4 separate regions of the Homo sapiens genome follow, and all the other regions are linked to region 2. Evidence: promoter capture Hi-C in 16 types of primary human blood cells and fetal thymus (Javierre and others, 2016). All regions are on one chromosome and are shown on one strand. The core of a region is centred on a gene start or on the middle of the fragment in contact, and the rest is flanking DNA. Distances in the headings are between cores, read along the strand shown. Region 1 overlaps FNDC3B (fibronectin type III domain containing 3B). Region 2 holds the start of TMEM212 (transmembrane protein 212). Region 3 overlaps LOC105374217 (a long non-coding RNA gene). Region 4 overlaps FNDC3B (fibronectin type III domain containing 3B).

The links. Contacts are between HindIII fragments. The CHiCAGO score rates a contact against its expected background, and 5 or more counts as called.
Region 1: a contact is called between a fragment that was not itself captured here and the fragment with the promoter of TMEM212 in region 2, in 1 of 17 cell types (M0 macrophages). The highest score is 6.2, in M0 macrophages.
Region 3: a contact is called between a fragment that was not itself captured here and the fragment with the promoter of TMEM212 in region 2, in 1 of 17 cell types (M0 macrophages). The highest score is 5.6, in M0 macrophages.
Region 4: a fragment that was not itself captured here is called in contact with the fragment with the promoter of TMEM212 in region 2 in 4 of 17 cell types (endothelial precursors, M2 macrophages, M0 macrophages and 1 more); the score reaches 7.2 in endothelial precursors.

Annotation. Positions count from the first base shown.
Region 1 is chr3:172,085,662-172,089,927 of GRCh38, reverse strand. All of the region lies in intron 1 of FNDC3B (fibronectin type III domain containing 3B), which reads right to left. Among named protein-coding and RNA genes, the nearest start is that of FNDC3B, 48 kb to the right of the region's middle. The HindIII fragment of the contact is 1,128 bases long and covers 1,943-3,070 here.
Region 2 is chr3:171,840,703-171,845,029 of GRCh38, reverse strand. TMEM212 (transmembrane protein 212) reads right to left here and starts at 1,681. Exons shown (of 5, transcript NM_001164436.2): 1 at 1,488-1,681. The coding sequence starts at 1,646. The HindIII fragment of the contact is 2,451 bases long and covers 649-3,099 here.
Region 3 is chr3:171,973,734-171,978,094 of GRCh38, reverse strand. All of the region lies in intron 3 of LOC105374217 (a long non-coding RNA gene), which reads right to left. Among named protein-coding and RNA genes, the nearest start is that of FNDC3B, 64 kb to the left of the region's middle. The HindIII fragment of the contact is 4,757 bases long and covers 423-4,361 here.
Region 4 is chr3:172,064,040-172,068,378 of GRCh38, reverse strand. All of the region lies in intron 1 of FNDC3B (fibronectin type III domain containing 3B), which reads right to left. Among named protein-coding and RNA genes, the nearest start is that of FNDC3B, 27 kb to the right of the region's middle. The HindIII fragment of the contact is 510 bases long and covers 1,785-2,294 here.

The DNA.
Region 1 (4,266 bases), core at 1,257-3,756, 240 kb before region 2:
ATCATATTTGTCATTAACGTTGTAAAAAGTTGAGATGGCCGACCTGGGAATTCATTCCCTCAGTTGTTCAAACATTTACTCGGTATCTTATGCAGCCGGCACGGTGCAGACCCTAGATACATAGTTTTCCACTTATGGCTGACTTTGTAATTGAGCTATTCAAGAGATTTTTAGATAATGAATCGACACTGAGATTTTCAAACCTCCATGCCTTGATCTTCACAAGACAGCCTTATTAGAATCTTGATTTTTTTAATGTTCCAAGAGTCTTCTGTCAGAGATATTAAGATAGTGCTATGACTGAAATTATATTAATGGCAAAAATCATAATTACTTTTGTACCCACCCAATAATTTAAAATCTTCATACTGCTGAGGGCTTAATACACCCTACATTCGATTTGTGCATGGTATGTGTTGTGCCGTCCCCTACCTTCGATCAACTGATGACTCAGTACTGATCTTCCCAGGGAAATCCTCCAAACCTCTGCGGACAGCTGTGCCACATTGCATCCTGTTTCCAACATTCACTAAGGAAATTTCCTCATCCCTAATGAATTCTTACTGTTTTTTTCTAGGGTTTAAGAAAATCCTATGGTAAAATATCCTGCCCCTAGTTTTATACTGTACCCCTATAACACACATTTTAAAAGATGTTTTCCTACACTCTTGATTCAAATATTTAATTTGGAAACAAGAATTAGTAAAGTAATAATAATTTGTGCTGAACTAATTTTTACTTTTACTTTGCAAATTAAATAATTAATAATTTGTGAACTAAATTTTACTTTGTCCTATGGGTATTAGTTGCTCACTATGAATTTTGAGAGCTCACAGGACATTGAAAATCCCATTTATCCAAAACTAATTCTGTGAAATTCAATACCATGACAAGTCAGTGCTCTTGTCAATGCCTTTTTTGTCCCGTAGAAAGCTAATTTATCACTTAAAACAGAACCCTGAATATTATTTGGCTATTGTCTGTAAATTTTAAAATCTTACAGTTGAATAAATGAGTAAAAATATTACTATTGTTATAGCTTTTGTACAAGCTAATCATTTTAAGCATCACACATTCCACAGGAGAATACTGTCAACACAAGTAATCATAAAATCATAATGGCTACCTTTTGTAGAATTTATTTAAAATGTGGTTTTTAAATGATCAATTGCATTTCTTTTTTAGATTTCACTATGTAAAATTTATCTTTTTATTTATAAGTGTAACACTGGCACCTACTTTTAAATCAATTTATGAAACCATTCTCTTTTGTAGGATAAGTATTGTCATTGAAATATACATCTTATAAAATACAGTTTAAAGAAATGTAATAGCTATGTACAAAACATTTCAAACATTTATATTCAGCAAATCAATTGCATTTCAAAATATAATTACGAAGGTACAGACTTGTGTGATTTGATGTATGGGCATTACATTTAATTTAAAACATACTTTACATGGGATTCATTCTAGCACGAGAGACACTGACTGAAACCCACATGATACTGAGGAAAGATGACCGTGGTGGCCATCTGGAGATTTGGGTTTCAGTTCTGTTATGTATGCTAGCTGCAGGAGTTAGGTTTCTCAGTCTACATTTATTTGCAACATAAAAAGGTTGGACTAGACTACCTGCAAATTCCCTTCTAATATGAACTTCTGTGGTACCAGTACAGCGGTTTTGCTAATTTAGGATTCAAGTTGTAAATAAAGGCCTACTTGGAAGAAATTTTCCCTAGAAAGTACCTTGTTTAGCCACATAACTTTATAGAAAAATTACAATAGCTGTACAACACTCATTTAGGTCACACCTTGAATGATAAGCATTTTTAGGCTGTCAGCTTTTCCAGGAACAAGATGTGGCAGGCAATTTCCTGGTTCTAAGCATATGACTTACTCTGAAAAAAACGAATGGCTGAGGTGACGAATGATAAAAGCTTCAAGATACATGAACCAAAGTGGTATATACTACATTCTCATCTCTTGCTAATGTGGACTATCTTCTCTTGCATATTTCTAACTATTTAGAGATCTCCAATTATTTGGAGATCTAGAGCTAGGGCTCTCAAATTCTCAATCAGCCTTCACGTGCTACAGAAAGATCACAAATGGAGAAGCATTGAATTCTTATAGCCCCTGGCAAATACCAAAGATTCCAAATCATATTTGTACATCAGCATTAATTTTTCCCCAGTGAGGGTTTGATTTCATTTCCAGCATGTTACAACCTATACAAGTTTTAAAAATGCAACATCAGGATTTAAAATTTGCAATGAAATTTGAAAAAAAAATTTTTTTTAATCAGCAGCACCTCTGAGATTATCTATTCCATCCCTTATTTTTCAGAGGTCACACCACTGATTAATGGCAGGATAAGGTCTCTTGCTTCTCAAATCACTTCAAATTTCTAAGCATATTTTCCACCTAAGTTTACAAAGGAAATCTAACCAAGTTATAAGCTCTTTTAACGCCCACACACATATGCACTCATTCTTACTTATCAAATTCCAAAATGTTAATTATCCCACTGTCTTTCCCTATTACATCAGCCTCTATGTGAGAAGTCCCAAACCTGGCAAGTAGTACGGCTCACAGAGAAAACAAGTATTATCTATGTGAATAACAGCAAGTCTCTAAAAGACCAACAGCAGAAGAAAAAGATGGCTTCGGTCAAGCTGATAGTTTATAATATAGGCAAGGTAAGTTATGCGCCTTAACTAGAAGTACATTACCTAAAAATAGGAAATCAATTCTTTTCAAAAAAGGTATATTTATTTTCTAAACAAAAGAAAGATGACTCAAAATTATCCTTCTCATTCCGTTTGGATTCTACACTGTTTTGAGCATGCCACTTCCTTCCATCTCCGGGAGTGGCTTGGAAGAAATGGAACTATAAACTCTGGTAAAAGTGAGGAAAAGCAAGAAACCATGTGAAGCCAGGAACTCACCACCTGTGGTGTCTGTTCTTTAATAAATCTATCCAGGTGAAAATTTCTAAGGTATGTGACACAGGAAAAATACTCTGCTACATGCTAATACATCTTCTGTAGAAAACTTCCATCAAGCTTGAGAAACTCTGAGTTGAAGAGCTAGAAGTTCTTTAACACTACACTTCAAAGAACTTTTAATATACACTGAGAATCTCCCCAAGGCCGAACGTTTTTGAACACACAAACTTTTTAAGATCTAATGTTCACTAGAGAATGCCTTTTGGATAACTCTGATCTAACAACTTAATTCTTTTCAATTCTCCTAATGAGATTATGTGAAATCCCAATTTTATAAAGATTATATGAAAATAAGAAATGTTATTAGCATTTCACTTACATAGTTCCTTTAAATAAGAACTTAGGCCAATTTTTACATAAAGAGTCACATAATCAAATAGGCAATTCATGAGTCTAAAGGACTAATTGTACAATCTAATTTATCCATATAATAACAAAACACAAGTCACATTTCCACATTAAACATGGCTTGAAATTGCCAATTTTCCAATGTACCCTTGGAAGCATATGCCATTTGTTCTTTATATTAAAAGGGAAGCAGAGCTTTTTTTTTTTTAAAGATCAGGTCTTGCTCTGTCATCCAGGCTGAAGTGCAGTGGCAGGATCATGGCTCACTACAGCCTCTACCTCCTGAGCTCAAGCAAACCTCCTACCTTAGCCTCCCAAGTAGCTGGGACTACAGGTGTGTGCCACCATACCCAGCTAATTTTTAATTTATTGTAGACACGTCATCTCTTTATGTTGCCCAGGCCAGTCTCAAACTTCTGGCCTCAAGTGATCCTCCTACCTCAGTCTCCTAAAGTGCTGGGAATACAGGTGTGAACCACCATGCCTGGCCCAGAGCTTAATTGTTTAGGTCTTAGACAACAAATCTCAAGCATTCATTTCTCCTGGATGAAATATCACTTTTTACAAGTAATATTTTTTAAATCTTTTGCAATTTTTGCCACCTTTACAAACAGAAAAATAAAAGCTCTCTAGAATAGAGACTATGTATACACCTATAGAGCCCTTCTAATACTGTATCTGAGAAACAAGCAATGTGGCCATGCACTTTTAACATCCGAATCCATTATGCATTAATAGTTCAACAAAGGAAGCACTTTTCCCCAGACTCACATTCCATGCTACCACTTCCACAGTCAAAGCACTGAGGTTAATTCCTTTGAATTGCTATCTCTTCTCTTCTGCATACCATCAGCAATCATAACCATAATCATAAAAAGTCTAGACCTCAAAGAAGCAGAGGTCTTAG
Region 2 (4,327 bases), core at 432-2,931:
GAAAAAAAAACTGAGAAAGAGAAAGATAACCCTGTGGTTTCCTCATTCCATCGACTCTCCCATAATCCCACTGGCTTCCGTCTATCTGCACACATTCATCAAACCCCACTAGACCAAGTTCCTTTAAGATGAAGACCTTGTTGGATCCTTCATTGTAACTCAACGACATAGGGGGCTATTCATAAATATTTATCTAATAAGTAGATTAAAATTTATATTTCCTGAGGTCTAGTTTTTAGGTGGTATCTCAGTTAAAGTTTTAACTTTTTAAAGATTTAAGATACTATCTCACACAACAGTGGCTACATTTTGTTTGTTTGTTTTGAGATGGAGTCTTGCTCTGTCACCCAGGCTGGAGTGCAGTGGTATGATCTCGGCTCACTGCAAACTCTGCCTCCCAGGTTCATGTGATTCTCCTGCCTCAGTCTCCTGAGTAGCTGGGATTACAGGTGCATGCCACCACGCCTAGCTAATTTTTGTATTTTTAGTAGTGACGGGGTTTCGCCATGTTGGTCAGGCTGGTCTCGAACTCCTGACCTCGTGATCCGCTCCCCTTGGCTTCCCAAAGTGCTGGGATTACAAGCGTGAGCCACCATGCCCGGCCAAGTGGCTACATTTTAATAGAAGATTCCTTAAGATCAAAAAGCTTCAATATTGAATTCTCCAGTCTCCAGTAGTGTCAGGCGTCACAGGAATCAATGAGAGAAGGATTTGTTGGACAGGTGGGTCTCTGTAACTTCTCTTAAATCATACCAGCATGGAAGCCAGTTACTCCCAAGACTAGATGTGCCCATTTTTTTTTGGTTGGAGAGCTAAGGGACCAGGCCAATCGTTTATCTGTGCAATGATTCAATGAGCGCACACGGAGTACTACTTAGTGTCGTACGCTGTACTTGGCACATGTACTTTCCTAGTGAATTGTGAAGTCCATCTTGAATTATTGAATTATTTGAATTATTTTCAAATAATTGAAAATTATTGAGTTATTTTCAGTTCAAACAGTTGCTTGCAAGAGAAAGGTGGAAAAACAAATATTTGGGGTTTGTAAATTTTGGGGCCATGTACATCTTAGTGTTTGCAATGAAAGCATTAGTTTGAAAATTATTTTACTTTGTTCTGTATTTTAAAATTACTTTTCAAGGTTTATGTTTTTTTCTAAATTCAAAATTCACATTTCAAAAGATTCTAATTTCTTAGCATATCAAGTTAAGTGGATTAAAATAAAATAACTTTTTAAGAATTTCTTGAGCAGCATGTCATTAAAAATACATAATATACATGTATACATGATAAAACAATATTAAGATCATTTTTATACTTAAAATGCAATTAATAGAAATCAATGTTCCAAGGCGGATTCTGATTTTTTGTGGAATTTTGACTTCTTTGTATTGTTAGAACAATTTAAAAGGATATGTTCTTCTGTTTTCCCTTTCCCTCCCACCTTCTTTTATTTTCTCAATATATTTAATAAACTATTTTCATACCAAAGCTCCATTCCAGATAGGACAAGCAATTCGAACACTCCATCCTGTGAACCAAGGCTTGTAAGAAAAGACAGGAAAGAAAGCAATAACTCCAGAGCATACACTGAGGATCCCCAGAGTAACAAGAATCCGGCCAGCAGCCTGGTAGAGGCCCTTCATTTTCCTTGGTGGCTTGAGGCCTTGGTCTCAAAGATGTTTTGTTACCAAAACATGAGCGTATGACAGGCCTCAGTAAATAGAAGTTTCTTAGAGACAGTAGCCACGACACATACGAACTGTTGATCTACTTGGAAACAAGATTCTATTTGTTTTACCAAAGATGAAATGTACTCAAATAGTCCTTGGCATAAATTTGACACAATAAATTCTAATAACAATTTATTTAAGAGAAAGAGAGAAAAAAATTATCCCTTGCTTTGGATTGCTGCCTTGATTCCCTTCATTCTGCCCTGTCCTGGGGAGTGACCACTTCCTGGCTTAATCAGATTCAAAGGCTTGCTGACTGAGCTAATTGTTTCTCAACTCAACCTGCCTAGTGGTTCCAGCATAAAGCCAACATCCTTTGTGTACAATAGATCCACATTCCCAGCACAATTTCCCACAAAACAAAGTAAAAATAAGCACCCTGGTCACTTTTCATTATATTTAATTTAAATGATTTCAACCCAAAGCAAGACCTTCACCTCCTTTCAAAGTTTAATTCCACTACAATTATTTTTGATAAAGATTTTTGATATGGATTCATTCCCAAATGGGCATGAACTTTATTATGGAGTTTTGCATTGTTTTCACTAAACCAGTTTCACCTTATTTTACTATTAATTTAATTTTCAATTAAAGTGTGATGATGGAAATGTATGCAGTTATAAAATAAAATAAACTTTGAGGAGCAATTCATCAGTTGAATAAAATGCTGATCCCCATTCATTCTTGAATCATAATTCTAATTTGAGATATTGAACTTAGGTACATTTAGGCAGTTACAAGTCATCTCTTACTTTTTCATGCATTTGAGAAAATGGTGTTATTTGATTTTGACTGATTGGATATATGTGGATGTCTGTTCAAAAAAATATCTTAAAAACACAGGTCAGTTTCTGAAGCCATCTGAATAATTTTCCTATTTAACATTAATACATTATTCCTTTTTACTGAAATAAAAGGATGAAAAATAATTTTATGAATGCAAATGAAGTGGTTTAGGACATCGATTTTGAGTCAGATGGAGCTGTGATCCGATTCTGGTTCCACTCTCTACCAGGTTTGTGTCCTTGAGTAAGGGCAAGTTACTTAACTTCTCTAGGTCTATTTATTCGTATGCGAAATGGGAATAAAAGTTAGTGTTTATCTTTAATGGATTTGGTTGAGAGGATTAAATGAGCTAAAACCATAAATGCCTAGCCCAGAGTTTAGCATAACGAAGATGTTCAGAAAGTTACTCTTGTTAAATTGGGATGTTCCACCTTTGGGGTCCTTCCATCGTGGGACAAAGGTGCACTTATTGTGGTTTTTTTTTAAATTCATCACCTTAAAAACATCATGTTTAACTCTTCCTGAACAATTTGGTAAAAACTCCCAAAGGACCCTCCCATATGTGGTGGAAAGAGAAGCTTCTCTCTGATTCTCTGCTTTTTTTCTTTCTGCCTTTCTGTCTTTAATAGCCATTCCACAGTTTGACCCAGATTTTGAAGCAGTTGCATTCCTGGATATACAGAATCCAGGAAACCAACTCATGCTTTCTGGTACAGCTGCTATTTCTTATCTCCTCTCAACACTGTGGGCTATATTCTCTGATTTTTTTTTTCTAACACCACTAGATAAATTTCACAAGGGCAGAGACCTTGCAAGTCTTATACATCCCTTAAATGTATGAGATATTCCCAGCGTCTACAACCTTGTCTGCATCAGAGCAGATACATATAGTAATAAGTATTTGTTGAATTAGTTGATTAATACATTAAACTTTCCCCTTTGTATTTGGGCTCTCCTGTCCCCCTGAAGCTGCACAAGTATAGAGCCATGTGAATCCACCACCGTCAATGAGTGTTGATGCTAGTTTGTTCCACTGATATGGGGGGGGAAGGGGTCGAGAGTGAAGAAAGACTTGTTTGTATTAGTATTTGGTTTGAGCTGTTTTGACTTTTTCCTTTACTTTTTATCTCAAGGTTATAGCTAGATGGTATGTCAATATGCTGTGGGTCAGATCACTCTCTCCTGTTTGCATGTTTGGAAAATAAAGACTGTTGAAATACTCATGTTAAACAGTACAAAGATGGCAAACAAAGAGAGTATTTTTTGTTTTAACTTGAAGGACCTTTTAAGTGCCTGTAACACTCACAGCCTAACCCTGACACTGCTATTGTGACTTATAAACCTGAATTTATTAGTGATTAGAGGAGCTGTTGCCACTTAATATAACAAAGAGAAGGAAGAGAGGTAGAATAGGGTTTCTCTCTGTGTGTTTTCCCGCAGGAATCTAGTCCCACTAATTTCATTAAAAAAAGGACATTTTCAGTGAGAGCAGCTACTAGGAAAGAAAAGAAAGTGTCACTGCTTCTGTCTTGGGCTTCCTCTCTGATCAGCCGTGTCTGTGTGCCCATGTCCTGGCAGCCAGCAAGGTTTATAGGGCCCCTGCTCCCTCTAGTCATCCCACGTGGCACTAACTGACTGCAAGTTGGGCCTGCAAGTTCTCCTAGGAGGTGGTGGTGTCAAGGTCGCTGTAGGCTGCTTTGCAGACTCCACCTTCTCCTCAACCCAGGGGATCCCAGGATCTTGGCTCAGGGAAAAAGGCGGTAGCTTCACCAAACACTTCAAGCCAGTTTTGCCACTGAAAACAAACA
Region 3 (4,361 bases), core at 1,552-4,051, 130 kb before region 2:
ACATCATATCCTGAGTTACTGCCATGGTTCATGTTAGAGCTCTGTGGACTGAGTCAATTGTGGCTGGCTATTAAGACAGTCTTGCTACGAATTAAAGATAGATAGATAGATAGATAGATAGATAGATAGATAGATAGATAGACAGACATTAAACTTAGCCATGACTATTTTCTTTATCTCAGTTATCGATTGCTACATAACAAATTGCCACAAAACTTAGTAACTTAAGACAACAAACATTTGTAATCTTCCACAGTTTCTGAGGGTCAGGAATCGGAGACCAGCTTGTCTGAGTGGTTCTGACTCAAGGTCTCTCCTGAGGTTTTAGTCAAGCTGTCACTCAGGGCTACAGCCTCTGAAGACTTGACTGGGACTGGAGGATTTGTTTCCAACGTCATACACATGGCTGTTGGCCGGAAGCTTCAGTTCTTCACCATTGGGCCTTTCTGTAGGGCTGGTCATGACCTGGCTTCCCCCAGAACTAGTGATCCAAGAGAGACGCAGTGACCAAGACAGGAGCTGCAATCTTGGGAGTGACATAGCATCACTTCTGCCATGTTCCACCGGTTATACGACTCTAGTACAATGTGGGAGAGACTACACAGGGTGGAATACCAGGAGGTGGGGATCATCAGCGTGGTCTTGGAGGCCATCTACCATGCTGTCCTACCAGTGTTCCTCACTGAGAGTAGCACTGAAGTTAGGGTAGGACAAATCTTTGTTGGGTAGGACTGCCCTAGGCATTGCTGGAGATTTAATGTCCCTGACCTTCACCCACTAAATGCCAGCAGCATTCCACAGACCTGTGACAATCATAAGTGACCGTGAACATTTCCCAGATGGGTGGTATTCACCCCCACCTGACAGCCTATCTGCTATTTGAGTCAGAAGGACTTAGGCTTTGGAAGTTAATATAAATGTAAACATATCAATTTATTATTTTCAAAAATATTACAACCATTACACTGGCATCTTCTCATAGGGTTTGAAGTAATTAAGGGATTTCCAGTCCTATAAGACAGGCCTATAGTTTGAAAGAGCACTGAACTCGGAGTCATAAAATGTACACTTAGTCTCACTTCTCCCTTTTGGTAGCTGACAGCCGGGAGCAAGTTATAAAACTCTCTGAGCCTTGCTTGTGAATGGGAGGTAATACTACTTACCTCACAAAGTTCTCAAATAAGAAGGTTCTATAAATAGGGTAAAGAGAGTGAAGCATCCTTGAACCACACATGGGCTGACTCCTTTCAGAGAAACGAGAGTGTCCCAGTCCCTAGAGGCTGCTGTGGTTTCCAGTAGGAGAGTCAGAGGAACCAGCGAATCCCCATGGACCAATGTAATGGGCCAAGATTCCCTTAACAGGACAATCCATGCAAGCCTTGGTTTACTTCTTCACAGAGGCAGGAGTTTTCCTAGCTACAAGATGACTACTAGGCTTTATTTTGGTGAGAACTCTATATTCCTTCTATTTTGTTGCCTTTCCTGGTCTTTGGCCAAGGTATGACTCGTGGGACAACCATAACATTTTCTCCCATTTTACTCCTCTGTTCTGGATTTCCTTTTCCCACTGCTCCTCTCCTCCTAAGCCTTGGCATTTTCCTTTTGGAAAGTGATCATCTCCCTCCCTGTACTTCTGTCTGCACTTTTACTCCACTCCCTTGACATCCGGCTCACTCGTGAACTTGGTGCTTCCCCTCTAGTCTTCTCAAATTGTCTTTCCATCAAAACATGGAGGCAAAACTCTTCCACCCGCAGCTGTCTACATTTTTTTCTGTTCCTGGGCTGGGAGGCACAGCTGGAGAAAATCACCGAACTTTCTGGAAGGGTATCCTACAAATGAACTCCCACATGCCCTGTGCCATCAGCACTGCCTGATGCTCCTGTTTTCTTGGTCAGCTCTCTCCCTTCCATCTCCACAGCATCGATTATGAGACTTTTCCTCATTGAACTGAAGCCATCTATTTCTTTCCTTCATACTTCTACCTCACCCCTTACCTTCAAATAACTTTGCCTGCTCCTTCACAAAAAATTAGAAGCCACAGATGAGAACACACACAATTTCCTGCCATGTCTTTCACCATCTTACCTGTCCCTATACCTGCACTTACCTTCCCCTAAGACTAACCCTTCCATCTAAACTTAGGCTCTCATCACCTTGGGCCTTCTCATGTACTTCCTTCCGGCATGTATCCCCACTCTTCTACATTTCAACCTCAAAATTTTCACACGATCCTTCCCATTTTTAAGTATCCTCAAGTCTCTTTCTTTTTAAAAAATCCTCCTAACTCTTCTTTTCTCCCGCTTGCCCTACACTTTTCTCCTATCACACTCCTCCCCCTCAGAGCCCGAGTTCTTGAAATAACTGTCCACATTCTCTGTGGCTTCCTCATGTCCCTTTCCTCTCAACTGACAGCAATCTGCTTCTGCCCACACCTTTCCTCAGAAACTGCTCTCATTTGGTCCCAAGCCACCTCCCTATTGCTACATCTAATAAACAGTTCTCATTTCTTATCTGACTTGAGCTCTCAACATTTGACGCTGTTTACCACTTCCTTCTGTGCTTGGAATGCTCTCTTCATTTGCCTTCTATTAAGCCACATTCTCCAACTTTCCCTCCTCCATCTCTGGCTGCTCCTTCTCAGTCTCCTTTCCGACAACTTTTCCTTTGCCCTTCTATTTAACTCAGTGTGACCTCTCTGAGTTTGACCCTCTTCTATTCTCCGGACACATTCTCTCCCTTGGTGATCTTGTTCATTCTTGTAGCTCCAACGATTTATTGCTGATGACCCCTGAACTTGTGCCAATGGCCCAGAAGGCTGTCCTGAGCTTCAGACTTAGGTTTCGGATCGCTTGGATGTTTACATCTAGATTTCCCACAGGCACCTCTACTCAATTGGACTGCAATTAAGTTCTTGTCTCCATTTCCCAGCTAAAATCTGCTCCTTTTGCTGGGCATCTCCTGACCCTTCTCCCTCCCTGACACACTTGTCCAATTGGTACCCAAGTCCTGAAGATTCCACCTCCCCAAGAGAGGTCTCACCTCCGAGGGCATAACTCCACTTGGACCATCACTAGCTTTGATCATTTCTTCTCTTCGGATCACCACTGCTGCCTCCAAACAGGTCTCTTGGTTTTCAGTTTTCACATCAAATCCAAGGGGATCTTTCTGAATCTCTAATTATGTCCCGTCCGTTCACCCTGCTTAAAATTCTTCATCAATCCCCTCTTGTCCTCAGGATGTAAGGCTTTCTCACAGTCTGGTCTCTCCCACCTGTGTCTTGCCAGTGCCACCCCCCACCTATCCTTCAACTACACTGAGTTATTTGTAGTTCTGTAAGATTGCTTGCTATGTCTTGCCTCTGCACTTTTGCACATGCTTTCTCCTGTTTTGCTTTGTTTTTCCCCCCCATTTTTTGAGTTAACTCCTATTAATCACTTCTTCCACAATGTCTTTGATGACCTTCATGGAACATAGTTACATGTTGCTCCCATCCTCCATTGTGTTACCCCGTTTGCCCCTGATACAGCACTGATTGTGCTTTCATTGTCCATCTACCCTTAAACATTAGGAACCTTTCAGAAAGAGACCCTGTTTTCTTTGTAGTTTTAACTTTAGAGTCTGGAACAGTACATGGTGCATATTGGGAGCTCAATAAAGACTTATTTATTTATTTATTTATTTATTCTGTGACAGAGTCTGGCTCTGTGGCCAAGGCTGGAGTGCAGTGGCACAATCTCGGCTCACTGCAACCTCCGCCTCCTGGGTTCAAGCAATTCTCCTGCCTCAGCCTCCCAAGTAGCTGTGATTACAGGTGTTCGCCACCAGGCCTGGCTAATTTTTGTATTTTTAGTAGAGACGAGGTTTAGAACTGGTCTAGAACTCCTGACCTCAGGTGATCTGCCTGCCTCAGGTTTTCAAAGTGCTGGGATTACAGGTGTGAACCACTGCACCCAGCCTCAATAAATACTTATTAAATGAAGAAATGAATGATGCTATTAATATGTATCATGTGACACTTATAAATATTATTATAGTTGAATTTGAGCTTGAGATGAGGGGACTGTTAGGGAGATGGATGAATTTAAAAATCATAAAGAACCAAAGAAGGCCAGAAGCAGTGGCTCACGCCACTTAGAGAAGTCACTGACCTTGGTGTCACTATTTCAAAGATGATATTAAAGACAAGGGATGGGCATAGAAGGAAGAAATAATTGCTTTCTGGTTTTCTTTTCACAATACAGGTGAGAAAAAAAAGTAAAACATTCAAAAAGAAGAGGACAAAATACTCTAAAAAATGCAGTAGTTTCCTAGGTTGAAGTTTCAGAAATATTTAATGTTTAGAATTCTCTATGTTTATCTA
Region 4 (4,339 bases), core at 790-3,289, 220 kb before region 2:
AGAACTACAAAATTAATTCAAGTAAAATGTCTGAGGAAACAGAGGGATGAGTATTGAAAGTGGGAGCCATGGTCGAGCCAGTCCATCATTAGCTTCTGTTCTTTCTGGCGCTTCCCCATTCACTCGGCAGAGCATCAGCTCTGACCCTGGGGATATAAAGGTGAACTTACAAGCCCTCTGCAGGAGCCCAGAATGGGAGTCCACTGGGGGGAATAGGTGGGTAACTAAATGACAAAAGTGTATAAGACAAAATAGAATCCCCTGAAAAGAGCAGCAGGGGCTACAGAATGGGATCCACCAGGATGAGCCTGAAGAGTTGGGAAAGGTAGACCGAAAGCAAGGCAGTCGCCCTGTGACTGAGGTGGAGGAGTGGGGAGGTATGACAGGCAGTAGAGACACAGGGAGGCCATGTACAGCCCAGAGGGAGAAGATGATGATGGCCTGAACGTTCTCTGCTCTCAGGAGTCATAAGTATTCTACCATTAATTCCCAGAGGAAGTCTCTTCAAAACAGACAGGAGAAGGAAACACCTATAATAAGTCTTGCAGGTTAAGTGGCAGAGAAACAAACTGGTTTCCCTAGGTCTACAAAAGAGCCTGTTCTGTAGTACTAACTCTTGGACCACAAATCCCTAACAAGATGCAAACTTCTGAAGATTCTTAATGGGCCTGTTAAGTAATTTTTTTTTCAAGTGTGATGACATTTTGCTCCACTGATCCAGGTGCAAAGACTGTACCAAAAACCCACCAGAGACTTTGCTTCGTATAGGAAACTCTTGATGTAATTGTAGCTCTATGACTCACGGTAATTATCTTTTTAAAGAAACATAAAACACTAAGAAAGTGTACTTTTATTTTATGATCTTCTATAAAATAACAGCATTAGTATTTCATTCATAAGTGTAATAAAGTAACATCAAACAAGAAAAAAAGCAGAGTCCGACTCTGGTGCCTTAGTGAACGCAGAAAAGCCTCACAGATCAGATTTACAGTAAGCCAGACAAACTCATCTCCACACCACTTTCATCCTTCTCATCAAAAAGGTAGTAAGACTTCAAAAAGCACATCAATCAGGCCATTCTCGCTGTTTAAGACACAACCCCAAAAGAACTCAAACTAATTACAGCGCCACATTATATACAGAAAAATACCACTGCTGTCTGAATAATATCTAAACAGTGGAAATTTAAAAGGACAAAATTAGGAAGCAAAATAATAAAAGCCTAGAGGAGGATTTTGATAGCTCATGGAAGACTGGGTGAGGGTAGGAGACTGCGGACCAAGTCTTATATCTGCACAGGAGAAAGAACCAAGTTAGAAACCACTCTACATAAAGCAAGGAGGAAGAGCTGCAATCTGAGAAAAGGGTGATCTGGTACAAGACCCCTAAATCCACAATAAGAGAATATTGTGTATGTCTCAAAAAGAGAGTATTGTATATGTCTGCTACTGAACAACAGCAACAAAAATTTTTACACTTTTCAGTAAAAGTGCTTCAAAAGAGCTGCCTATGTTCACACACTCGTGCAACCAATTAAAAGTATAATAATCAAAATTAGTTCATTTTCAATGTATAGACCAGAATCTCAAAACAGATAAAAATTCCTTTCTGAAGTATGCAACTTAGTGTCACTTCTCCATGTGTAGCATTTTCTTCGAAAACACAAAACTTTGTTAATGTTCTTCTAACTCCCAAGTTACTCAGTAACCACAAGAGTAACTGAAAGCAGTCTGGGAACAGCAGCACGTAGATCCAGGTCTTAATCTGAGCCTTGTGACCAAGCTTTACTAAATGGCTCAACCCAGACAAGTCCTGAGTTTCCCAGAGGAAAATGAGCTTTATTTCCTGAAGCCTGTAGCCACCTCTGTCCTGAAAGGACAGGAAATTGTAGTCATTTTCGCCAAAACTATATGTAAACAGGCTGCAGAAGGGAGTTACCTAGATATTGCCTTGGGCAGATATTACCTCCCAAAGTCTCAGTTTTCTCATCAGGAAAATAGGAATCACATCGTTCCCCTTCCAGGGTTGATATGAAGGTACACAAGATCATATGTGGAATTTAAGATGCTCTAATGCCTAAAATGGCAAAACTTGGTGTTAGTATCATTATCGCCTCACTGCTCATCTCCCCAGGCCCACCTCCCACCCATATTGAACACCCAAACGTCATCATTACCCCTAGCAACCACAGAATCATGGGAAGACAGAACAGATGAAGTTTGGTAAGCTACTAAATAACAGTTGTGGGCTAACAGCCAGGTTATCAGACAAGCAAACGCAACCCAAATGAAGCTTCTTACCTGCATTTCTACATCAGCTACAATGGTCTTGGTGTATCTCTACATTCCAAGCCTTCATGCATCCTTTGTAAATACTAAGAATCAGGGGTATTTAGGTTGACAAAGTAACTACATTAACCACATAATCATACCTCTACATCATTATCACCAAGAACAACAGTATTCCAAATATTAGACTCATAACTCTAAAGCAACAATTTCCTCCCCTCACTCTCTGGGAAAAAAGAAAGAAAGAAAAACTTTGCAGAGGAATAAAGTGGGAAGCCAGTGTTCTAATATAAACATGACAAGCCCAATTCTATCACTGCAATATACTTTCTGACTTCAGTACAAAAATCTTTTCTGACCATCTGGAGCTACTCCAGGCATGAGGCCAAAACTTTGTAATTCCTTTTCAAAGTAAATGACAGATCAGTAACTGCCACGTTGCTAATGCACAGCCAAAGGGAGCACCTCATATCCTATTCAATGCTCCCTGGAGTTTTACACATATAGTAAAAACAAAGTGCTTCCAAATAAACCTGCCCACTTTCCAATATTCCAAACTGAACAGCGATCCTGTCACTTTTGAACAAGGCGGCATTTCTTCGGGTGTGATCCTATTACCCTATTTCACACACAGGAAGTAGGACTTCAAGTTTCACTAAAAAGTCATATCTACACTAAAATGAATCCTATGTATGTCCACTACTATTTCAGTTCTCCAGAAATGGCACATAGGAGTCTACCAAAAATTTTTTTTCTTTTGAGTCGGAGTCTAGCTCTGTCACCCAGGCTGGAGTGCAGTGGCACGATCTCAGCTCACTGCAACCTCCGCCTCCCAGGTTCAAGCAATTCTCCTGCCTCAGACTCCTGAGTAGCTGGGACTACAGGTGCATGCCACCATGCCCGGCTAATTTTTATATTTTTAGTAGAGATGGGGTTTCACCATGTTGGTCAGGCTGGTCTCGAACTCCTGACCTCATGATCCGTCCGCCTCAGACTCCCAAAGTGCTGGGATTACAGGCGTGAGCCACCGCACCAGGCCTCTACCAGAAATTTTAAGAGGCTGTTCTCTGCAGTGCCTGAGATGCCCATAAGGTTGCAATAAACATGGGGTCACATATATACAGGGCAACAGAGGTGAACTCAGGATCAATGGGGACCCATTAAGTTGGTGGACACTTGTTTTTAAACCCCACTGACTAGCAGAATCACTTTCTTCATTCATCCAACACACCAAATGGAGAGCCTACTATGCGCCAGGTACTGCAGTGATGACGAATGAAATCAAATCTCCCAACACCTTTGCCAAAAATATAAATTTGAAGAGCCCAAAACCAGTTTCATGTAATATGCCACTGATAATAAGAGCCATTTGAAAGCTCAGAAGCTAAAATTTGATAATCTTCCCCTGGAGCATATTGAGCAGAAAGATGTCAGCCAGCAATGGCTATGGACTTCCTACATTTCAAAGAAATGAAAGTTATCTCTGAAGTCACACTTTGCATTGGGGAGTTGTCTTACCCTTTTAAGTAAAACATTTTAAAACTGAACAACCTGAAAATTCATCTGTTAGCCAACCGTTTCTTACAAAGACAAGTTAAAAAGAGTTTTACAGATGAATAAAAGATGAGTAAACAGTAGCTGGCCACTAATCACAAAATTAAGCAGCAGATAGATTATAAATAAAAATATAAAACGGGTCATTATGGGGCTGACTTAGTCCATCTGGTCTGCTTTAACAAAATACCTTAGCCTGGGTAATTACAAACAACAGAAATTCATTTCTTACAGTTCTCGGGGTTGGTAAGTCCAAAATCAAGGCACCAACAAATCAGATGTCTGGTGAGGGCTCCTTTCCTGGTTCACAGATGGTGCCTTCTTGCTGTGTCCTCACATGGTGGAGGGGCAATCAGGCTCCCTTAGGCTGTCTATCTAATCTATCTATCTATTTTAAGAGAGAGTCTTGCTATGTTGTCCAGGCTGGAGTGCAGGGGTTATTCACTCACTGCAGCCTCAAACTCCTGGCCTCAAGCAATCTTCTCACGGCCACAGCC